Linked DNA regions of Homo sapiens: regions 2 and 3 are each linked to region 1. Evidence: promoter capture Hi-C in 16 types of primary human blood cells and fetal thymus (Javierre and others, 2016). All regions are on one chromosome and are shown on one strand. Each heading gives the region's core, a stretch centred on a gene start or on the middle of the fragment in contact. The rest is flanking DNA. Distances are from core to core; before and after follow the strand shown. Region 1 holds the start of ZNF282 (zinc finger protein 282). Region 2 overlaps ZNF777 (zinc finger protein 777). Region 3 has its middle 12 kb from the start of TRC-GCA11-1.

Evidence for each region. The method cuts DNA at HindIII sites, captures the fragments that hold promoters and counts their contacts. A CHiCAGO score of 5 or more calls a contact.
Region 2: a fragment that was not itself captured here is called in contact with the fragment with the promoter of ZNF282 in region 1 in 1 of 17 cell types (naive CD8 T cells); the score reaches 5.5 in naive CD8 T cells.
Region 3: a contact is called between a fragment that was not itself captured here and the fragment with the promoter of ZNF282 in region 1, in 1 of 17 cell types (non-activated CD4 T cells). The highest score is 5.7, in non-activated CD4 T cells.

The regions. Positions count from the first base shown.
Region 1 is chr7:149,193,929-149,196,935 of GRCh38, forward strand. It overlaps ZNF282 (zinc finger protein 282), which reads left to right and starts at 1,618. Exons shown (of 8, transcript NM_003575.4): 1 at 1,618-1,826. The coding sequence starts at 1,662. RefSeq lists silencers at 1,286-1,575, 1,394-1,715, 1,836-2,195 and an enhancer at 2,636-2,685. The HindIII fragment of the contact is 5,667 bases long and covers 1-2,592 here.
Region 2 is chr7:149,443,106-149,446,112 of GRCh38, forward strand. All of the region lies in intron 4 of ZNF777 (zinc finger protein 777), which reads right to left. Among named protein-coding and RNA genes, the nearest start is that of ZNF777, 16 kb to the right of the region's middle. The HindIII fragment of the contact is 3,968 bases long and covers 1-3,007 here.
Region 3 is chr7:149,425,603-149,428,609 of GRCh38, forward strand. No RefSeq gene overlaps it. Among named protein-coding and RNA genes, the nearest start is that of TRC-GCA11-1, 12 kb to the left of the region's middle. The HindIII fragment of the contact is 5,723 bases long and covers 1-3,007 here.

The DNA.
Region 1 (3,007 bases), core at 368-2,867:
CTGGTCTTGAACTCCTGGCCTCAGCCTTGGCCTCCAAAGTGTTGGGATTACAGGTGTGAGCCACCATGACTGCCCGATTTAAAGGTTTATTTATTTATTTATTTGACACAGGATCTTTGCTATGCCGCCCAAGCTGGAGCACAACGGCACAATCACAGCTCACTGCAACCTCCAACTCCTGAGTTCAAGCAATCCTACAGCCTTAGCCTCCTGAGTAACTAGGAGTACAGGCATTAGCCATCATGCCCGGGTAATTTTTATTTTTTATTTTATTATTATTATTATTATTTTTTTTTGAGACGGAGTCTTGCTCTGTTGCCCAGGCTAGAGTGCAGTGGCGCGATCTCGGCTCACTGCAAGCTCCGCCTCCCGGGTTCACGCCATTCTCCTGCCTCAGCCTCCCGAGTAGCTGGGACTACAGGCGCCGCCACCACACCCGGCTAATTTTTTTGTATTTTTAGTAGAGACGGGGTTTCACCGTGTTAGCCAGGATGGTCTCGATCTCCTGACCTCGTGATCCGCCCGTCTTGGCCTCCCAAAGTGCTGGGATTACAGGCGTGAGCCACGGCGCCCGGCCTTATTATTATTTTTTGAGATGGAGTCTCGCTCTGTTGCCCAGGCTGGAGCGCACTGGCGCGATCTTGGCTCACTGCAACCTCCGCTTCGGAGGTTGAAGCGATTCTCCTGCCTCAGCCTCCCGAGTAGCTAGGATTATAGGCCCACGCCACCACGCCCGGCTAATCTTTTTGTATTTTTAGTAGAGACGGGGTTTCACCATGTTGGCCAGGCTGGTCTCGAACTCCTGACCTCAGGTGATCCGCCTGCCTCAGCCTCCCAATGTGCTGGGATTACAGATGTGAGCCACCGCGCTCGGCTAATTTTTATTTTTTATAGGGATGGGGTGTCAATATGTTGCTCAGTCTGGTCTCGAACTCCTGGGCTCAAGTCGTTCTCCTGCTTCAGCCTCTCAGAGTGCTGAGATTACAGGTGTGAGGCACCACGCCCAACCCAATTTCAAGGTGTTTGAAGAGGCCACTGTTAAAATGCACTGCACCTTACCTGGGAGAAAGAGCTCAGCCCTCTTTTGACACCTTAACATGAATCACTTCTCTATCATCCATAACAGTGCAAAAGCTCTGGGATGGGTCCAGGTAAATCTGGATTGGGAAGAAGGGGAGTGGGAGGTAAAGTCTGCAAAGGAGTGAGGGAAGGCAGAAGGCCAGAAGAAAGTGTCTGAAGACAGAATTACTCCTGCAAAATTTTCACAAGGGTCAGGCACTATTTTCTCCCGGGATGCCCAATACATTTGCAGAATTAACAGTAATCAAGCCCACAGTCCAGGTCCTCGCATAGTTTGGGCCTTTAAAGTCGGCCATCCCAGATTGAGGGGGCCTGACCCCTGGGCGAGGCCGCCGCCTCTCAGTTTTGGGGCGGTGGCGACCCCAGTCCGGGAGTGGCCCCGGTAGGTCCCCGCAGGCGGGCAGGAGCTCCGAGGCCATTGGCTGGCGCGCGGGCTGCCAAGGGGCGGGGAGCGCCGCCGAAGGGGACTGTTTGCTCCTACGGGCTGTAGATGGAGCTGTCCGGCCCCGGAGAGGGGGAAGGCGCCTGGAAAACGTTCTTCTTCTCCCTGGCCGACCCGAGCGGGGAACAGCACTCCCAGGATGCAGTTTGTGTCAACACGGCCGCAGCCTCAGCAGCTGGGCATCCAGGGCCTGGGGCTGGACAGCGGGAGCTGGAGCTGGGCCCAGGCTCTGCCCCCGGAGGAGGTCTGCCACCAGGAGCCGGCGCTGCGCGGGGAAATGGCCGAGGGAATGCCGCCCATGCAGGTGGGAGAACCCCGCCGGCGCCATGGCCGCGCTGCCGTGGGGGCGGGGCGCGGGCTGGGCCGCGGGACCGGGCCGCGCCGTCCTCCGGTAGCCTTGCGGCGCCCTCCCAGCTTCCGCGCCCAGGCGAGGCCCGAGGCGGGCGGGGCACGGCCGGGCTGCGCGGCGGGCAGGACGGAGCGGGCCCGACGCAGGCCCGGAAGGGCAGGCCTGGCCCGCGCGGCGCGGAGCAGCGGTCGCCGGGCCCAAGTGCGGAGGCCCCGCGGGGCGGGGGCCGGGACCGTCCTTTCCGGGACCTGGCAGAGCTCTGACCCTGTGGCTGAGCCCCGGCTTGGGGCTCCCTTTGCGCCCGGCCGGCGGAGAGCTTCGCGGGCAGTGCTTCCGCCCGGCCGCAGAAGTGAATGCCTCGTTCGTGTTTACACGGTGGCCAATTTGACGGGGATATTTTTTAAATGTTTGATTACCACCTTTCACCAAGTGTAATGAGTAATTCACTCTCCCCCTGCACCGGGTGTGATCCAGGGAGGGGGCCATGGAGAGATGACTTCGGGGTCTTTCCTGCGGTTGACAAACTTGGCCGCATGTTGGAATGGCCTGGGCAGCTTTTAAGACTCCTGAGCCCTTGCCTGGTCCCAGAGCTCAGGGTCTCTGACGGGTGAGAGTAGCACCAGGCATTTCTTCAGGCTCCATCGATGATCTCCGTGGGCAGAACCGGTGCTCCAGAATTGGGTATAAAACCAGGGGAGGTGGATCCTCAGAGAGGCCTGAAAGCTTGCCCAGGGAAGACTCTCTGGGCCCACCCTGGGGCTGGGCTGCTCAGGGGCCCCTCTGCTCACCACGCGGCTCTCAGCCAGGTGCTAACGAGGGAGCCAGGGGCTGCTGTGTTGTGTTTGATCATTTTCAGGGTTAGGGCTTCAAACCCGAGAAAACTAAACTGGGCCCCGGGACTTTCTTAACTTCTACTGTGGACTCTGTCCCCTTCTGTGGGCTAGGGCGGAGTGGAGCCTCTGTGATGGAGGAATGGGTGCTTTTGATGGAAACACCAGCACCTCTTACTGGTATTACAGGGCCTGGCGATCCTAGGGCCCTGCTCTCCACTCTGCTGTGTCCCGGAGCAGGTCTGCCCCGGAGCAGGGCTGCTCTTGAGTCAGAGAGTGGGGCTGGTCTGCCCAGATCGCCCCAAG
Region 2 (3,007 bases), core at 335-2,834, 250 kb after region 1:
TACTGAGGCGCTGAAACTTGTGAACACCCTAAATGCACATCAATGGCAGAGTATTTAAATAAATTATGAAATCAATACACAGAATACTACTGTCAGCTATGAAAAAGAACACGACAAATTTATATATTCTGACGTAAAAATGTCAATGATATAGTATTGAAAAAAGAAACTTGCCAATACTTCTATATTGTCTGATTTTTTTACAATGATAATGTGTATATGTATTACTTATATAATTAAGGCCATGTGTATGTAATCACATGCACATAAAATTGGAATGAATAAACTGCTGACTCTTGAGAGAAAACTATGGGGGACTTTCACTCTCTCTGTACTTTTTCTTTGTGAAATTAAAAACCAGTATTGCCACATTAACTCTCTCTACCAGCTCAAAGTAAATAAATATTGGTTGACACTGACTTTCCAATCTTCGCATGGCTATACTGTTAGGTTTTTTTAATTAAAAAAAATTTTTTTTAAAGTTATACATGCACATAGGCTAGTGGAACATAGTTGAACAGTTCTTCAAAACTTCTTTTTTTTGAGACGGGGCTGCATCTTCCACCCCTTGGATTCAAGTGATTCTCCTGCCTTAGCCTCCTGAGTAGCCGGGATTACAGGCATGGGCCACCACACCCAGCTATATATACATATTTTGTGTACTTTTAGTAGAGATGGGGTTTTACCATGTTGCCCAGGCTAATCTCAAACTCCTGACCTCAAGTGATCCACCTGCCTCGGCCTCCCAAACTGTTGGGATTAGAGGCGCGAGCCACCACACCCGGCCCAAAACTTATTTTTTAAAAAGTTCTTTTCCACTCCTCTGCCCCCATTTCCTGCTCCCCGAAGCAATCACTTCAATGATTCCAGCTGACTCTTTGGTCATTTACCTCCATAACTCTAAGTAACACACTTATATTGCTACTCCTTGAGTTTTCAATTTTAAGCATCATCCATTGACTTCCAAGGGATGACGGTCAGAACCATCTCCTCCGAACTGATCCTGCCAATACAGTTTTGTTGTAATTTTAGTTGGATCAATACTGGGTGTTTACCTCGCTAGATTATATCAATGTTATTTATAACTAAACTCTGTAGTATTCAGTGAGTGCCTCCTACGCCTGTAAACCTTCTTGCTTTCCCTAGATCTGACACTTATTTCTTTTGCCCAGCTTACGACTAATTATCATGAACTTAGCCCCAAACTCCCCCAACCTTACCTTGCTGTGTAACTCTCCTTTCCAAACATTCAAATATATTGGGTATTTATCCATTTCATCTACTTGAAGACAAATTTCTGGGACCTGCGGAGGTGCCCCACTCGACTGGCTGCCTCTAGGTGCACAGCTGACCTCTCGGAATGCCCCTGGGCCGTGTGCCTGGAGTGCCTCCACCTCTCTCTCAAGTTGGGGTTTGTAATGCCTCCTTCTTGGTTTACTTCCTCATTTTGGCAAAGCGCCTGCCCCAGTTTGATAAAGGATTTGTGGAGACTTGAATATCTCAAAATGACTCAGTTTCACTCATATTTAATCGAAATAGTCTGGCTAGACATTGAATTATAAGTTGGAAAATATTTTCCTTTGGAATTTGAAAGGCACTACTCTACTGTCTTCTAGCTCCCAATGTGGTTACAAATGTCTGAGGCCATTCTAATTCTCATTTCTTCGCATGACTCTGTTTCTCTTCCCTGGAAGCTCGTAGGATTTCCTTTGTTCTCAGTTGCTCTGAAATTCCGTGCTGAAAGTGTAGGTCTATTTTCTTCCAGTGCTCTGGGCAGCTGGCTCTTTCAATCTAGAAAATTACGGCTTTAATTGGCGGGACCTTTTCTTGAATTATTTTGTTGATAATTCCCACCTGTTTCTGCTACTCTTTTTCTGGATATTCCTATTATCTGGATGTTGGACTTCCATCCTTCAGTTTTCTTATTCTTTCCCTATTCCCTTCCATCCTTTATTTTTATTTTTTTCCCTATTTTCTTTTCTTTTAGCTTTATTTTCTGGGATGTGTGCTTATCCTCCAACACTGCTCCTGAGTCTCTAATTTGTACTATTACATTTTTTATTTCCAAGAGTTCCTTTCTATTCCTTTTTTAAAAAACAAGCATTACACTTTTGTGTCATGAATGCATTCACTTATTTGATTTAAGGATTTTACATGTGAGTATTCATATATACATTTTTCCCTCTCTGCATGGTCTCTGTTCCTCTAAATGTATTTTTTCTGATTTCTTTACTTGTCTCTGTACACCACAGAGTTTTCCCAAATGTCTTCTCATTCTTGGTTGTCCCCGGAGACTTAAAAGGGGACACTCAAGAGAACAGGGAGCTCAGTGCATTTGGGTGAGGCCTGCTAACTATGGGACTCTGTTTGGCCCATAGGGTGCTTTGGCCAAGTCATTTTACCCAGAAACCTCTTGGGCTGGTCCCAAAAGTCTCCAGATAAGCCTCTTCAAATATCCTGCCCAGTGGGTTTAATTCTGGGTGTTGGCAACATTTCGGGAGTCGAGTTAGGGAAGAAGGCTGGAGGTCTCAACATCTGCACGTCAAGTCTCCTTCTTCCCGTTTTCAATATGGTGCCCCACCCTCAACTGTGCCTGGTGCCCATGTCCAGAGAGCCTCCTTTGCACCCTCCCCAGAGAATAAGCCTGTCACATATCAGGGCTAGGGAAAGGCAGATGCCTGCAGTAGGGACTGAGGGAGGCAATGGGAGCTGAGGGGAGCTTTAAGCGGTCTCTTTAAAAGATGTTCAGCCAGCTGTCTGTGTTTAGCCTCACTTCATTCCTATTTCCAGGGATCCCTAGAGTCTCTGGTACTATTAACTCTTGAGCCCCAAGCAGGTGTGGGGGTGCAAATTGGGTTTCTTCTCAGTTTTCCCCAGTACCAATTTCAGATTCAGCTCACCACATCTATCCACCTGCTTCAGGGCTGAAAAACTTCGTTGCTGTTTCTCCTTTCTTTTTAAAAGTTTCTTCACTCTTGTTTTAGAAGGATTTGGGAGGCCGGATGTG
Region 3 (3,007 bases), core at 348-2,847, 230 kb after region 1:
GAGCAAGACCCTGTCTCAAAAATAAATAAATAAATTTTTTTAATCTTAAATTTTAGAATTTGCATAATTTACCTGCAGCAAATTTGATCATGGGACCATGTAGTTCTTGGCTGGTACCTTCTGTGGAAAAATGGCAAGTTTCACCTTTCATACTTGTTTACTTTTCTTAATTGAGTTTAGCTTAAATCCAAGCTATTTCAATCCTTTGAGGGCATAATTTGATTATTTGTGTATCAGGTAAATGAAGAGCTGATTGCATTTAATTTTTAAAAAGATTTTATACTTATTAGACTATACTGATTTTAAGAAGAAACAGTCTGTTGTCCTGATAATCATTCTTTAAATAAAATTACCAGCAGGGATAGACATTTTCACTGATACATTTTGTCATTAAAATTCAACTTTCCATTACCTGAATTAATAGACAGCAGTGATGCTCCTGTCTTATAATACTTGAGTTATTTTGAGATATTATTTTACAAAGAGAAGCAGTGAGTTTCATTCATGCGGTAGTGGCGGGGAGGGAATGGTGAGAACTTAGAGGTAGCACTGAGCCGGCAGGATTAGAGTCAAGGGTGTATTTTGTGTTATTAGGGAGCAGGTATTTCTTCCTTATAATAATCTCCTTCATGCAACTACTCCTCTGACTGATAAACAAATGGCTTCTTAGGTCCCAACGTCAGAAATAAACAGAGAAAGGTGGCCTCTTGCCATAACAGTGCTCTCCCCAAAGTCCCTAAGGTATAGAGGACTCAGTCTAAAACGGGGGCTGGATTGGTGTTCTAACCACCAGTGTGCCCAGGAACACCTATTCTACCCTGGTCAGGTGAACCTCAGGACGTCTCCCAATGTCGCCTGGGCTTGGCTGGCCAGGCAGCCAGGGAACTGTGCTTTCAGGCAGGTCCAGACTCACATGCTGTGCCCATAGACAGTGAGAGCTGCAAATCAAAGAGAAATAGTCATGTTTTGCCCTTTTTATTAAGGATCCATGTTGAAATTGGGAGGCAGTATGTAACAGTGGTTAATAGCACACAGCTGGGGTTCCCACCCACTTAGGTTTAAATTCTGGCCGTGTGACCTTGGCTGCTGATGGCTGAACCTCTCTGAACTTCATCTGTTCAAGGGGACACAGATACCAATTTCACAGGTTGTTGCAAGATAAAATGAAAGGAAAGCGTTTATGATCTGGCACAGTGACTGCAACATGGTAAAACTCAATGAATTGTAGTGATTTTAGTTATTATCCTTAATAAACTTATGGCTAGTTCTGACTTCTGAACAGAACTTTTCATGTAAGGTTGCGATCAATAGTACTATGTTTAATGTTTTCTTTTCTTTCTTTCTATCCTGGTCTTTTCCCCTTTTTTCCTTCCTTTCACCTTCCTTTTCTTTCTTTTTTTTAGAGAAATCATTTAACCTGGAGCTGTCCTTTGTAGAAAACAGAAATAAAAGGGCTAAAGTCTATATTTTAACTAAAATTCCTCATTTCAAGGAAACCAACTAGAAATGGTAGATGCAAAGTTGATTTTTTTTTTTTTTTTTTTTTACAAATTGTCATCTAGAAGTTGCCAGTATGACTGGGAAGCAACAAGAGGCTTCAGCAGCAGTAATGCTTTCCAGAGCGCTGGAGGAGAGGCCCTGGCCTGACTCAATGTTGCCCTGGCAACAGTAGGGCCTGGAGGGCCTCTGTCCCTGATCCCTTAATCTGAGGAGCTGCCACCACAGTGCTTCAGGAAAGGTCTCCCACAGACACCTGGCTGGTTCAGGCTACATCCACTGAAGAGGAATGAAGAAAAGCTGGGGATGCGGTCCTTTATCAGAGACAGCCGCCTAAAGGCCTCTCTGATGGTCCCAGCTTTCCAGATCCCCAGAGGCTTAACCAGGCTGCCAGTCTCCACCAGATGCTAAGTGCTGTCTAGGCAGCCAGGGATTCCTAATCCTCTTGTGTTTCTCCACAGAGCCCAGCACAATTCTTTGCACACAAGTGGTGATTAATAAATACTGGGGGGGGGGTGCAGGGCTGTAAGACAGTGAGCATCCCCTCGGCACCAGCCCTGCCTGTCCCACCTGTGACCTTGGAGGACCCAACTCCTCTCCTCTTCATTTCTCAGCTATAAAATGCTAGGGCTCAGCGCTAAGGGTTTTTTCCTGCCTCAAACATTCTTTTTTATCCTCTTACTGTGTTCATCATTTTGGCAAATGCACAGAGCATGTTCTGTTTAATATATTTTGTTTCCCCCAATTTTATCTTCAGTCAAAAAATCCGGAGGCAAAATGGAATAATTTAAAAGAGGTGCTGGCTTTTCTTTTTTCAACAACGATACTGGCCCCAGGAAAACAACTTTTTGGCCAAGCACATGGGCTTTGGAGTCAAAGAACTGAGTTCAAATCCTGGCTCTACTATTTGGTTGCTGTGTGACTTTGGGCCTACTTAACCTCCCTGAGCCTGGAGCTTTCCACCTATAAAATGGGTGTAATGAAACATACATCAGAGTTATGAAGGGATGTATGTAAAGTCTTCCAAAGTAAGAAGCTCTCAATAAATGGTAGTTATTCCTTCTGCTACACAGCTTTATGGGGCCAACAGCAACAGGCAACTTAGGAGTTCACAAGTCTAATTAAATTAAGGGCACCCAAGAAAAGCACTGTGAAAGAGGACCAGAAAACTCAGCGAGGTGGGGTACTACCTCCTGCAAACTCTGGAGTGTGGCCAAGGGGTGAACTGAAACCCTGTCCACTCCTAGATAAGGACCATGATATAGTTGTGGTTTAATTTGTACTTTCTCACACCAAAATAATCTACATTTGCCTACTGAAATTTCCTTCTCAAAGATTCATTCTTTTAGGATATAACACTAGCCCACTACCAACTTGAACTTCTGTTTGAAATTAGTAATCTCTTATTGAGACCTTAGTATCTGCCAGTGTCTTTGCTATGTATCTATTGTGATTTAAGCCTCAGAACAATGGGAACTTTATTATCCCTATTTGACAGATGAGGAAATTG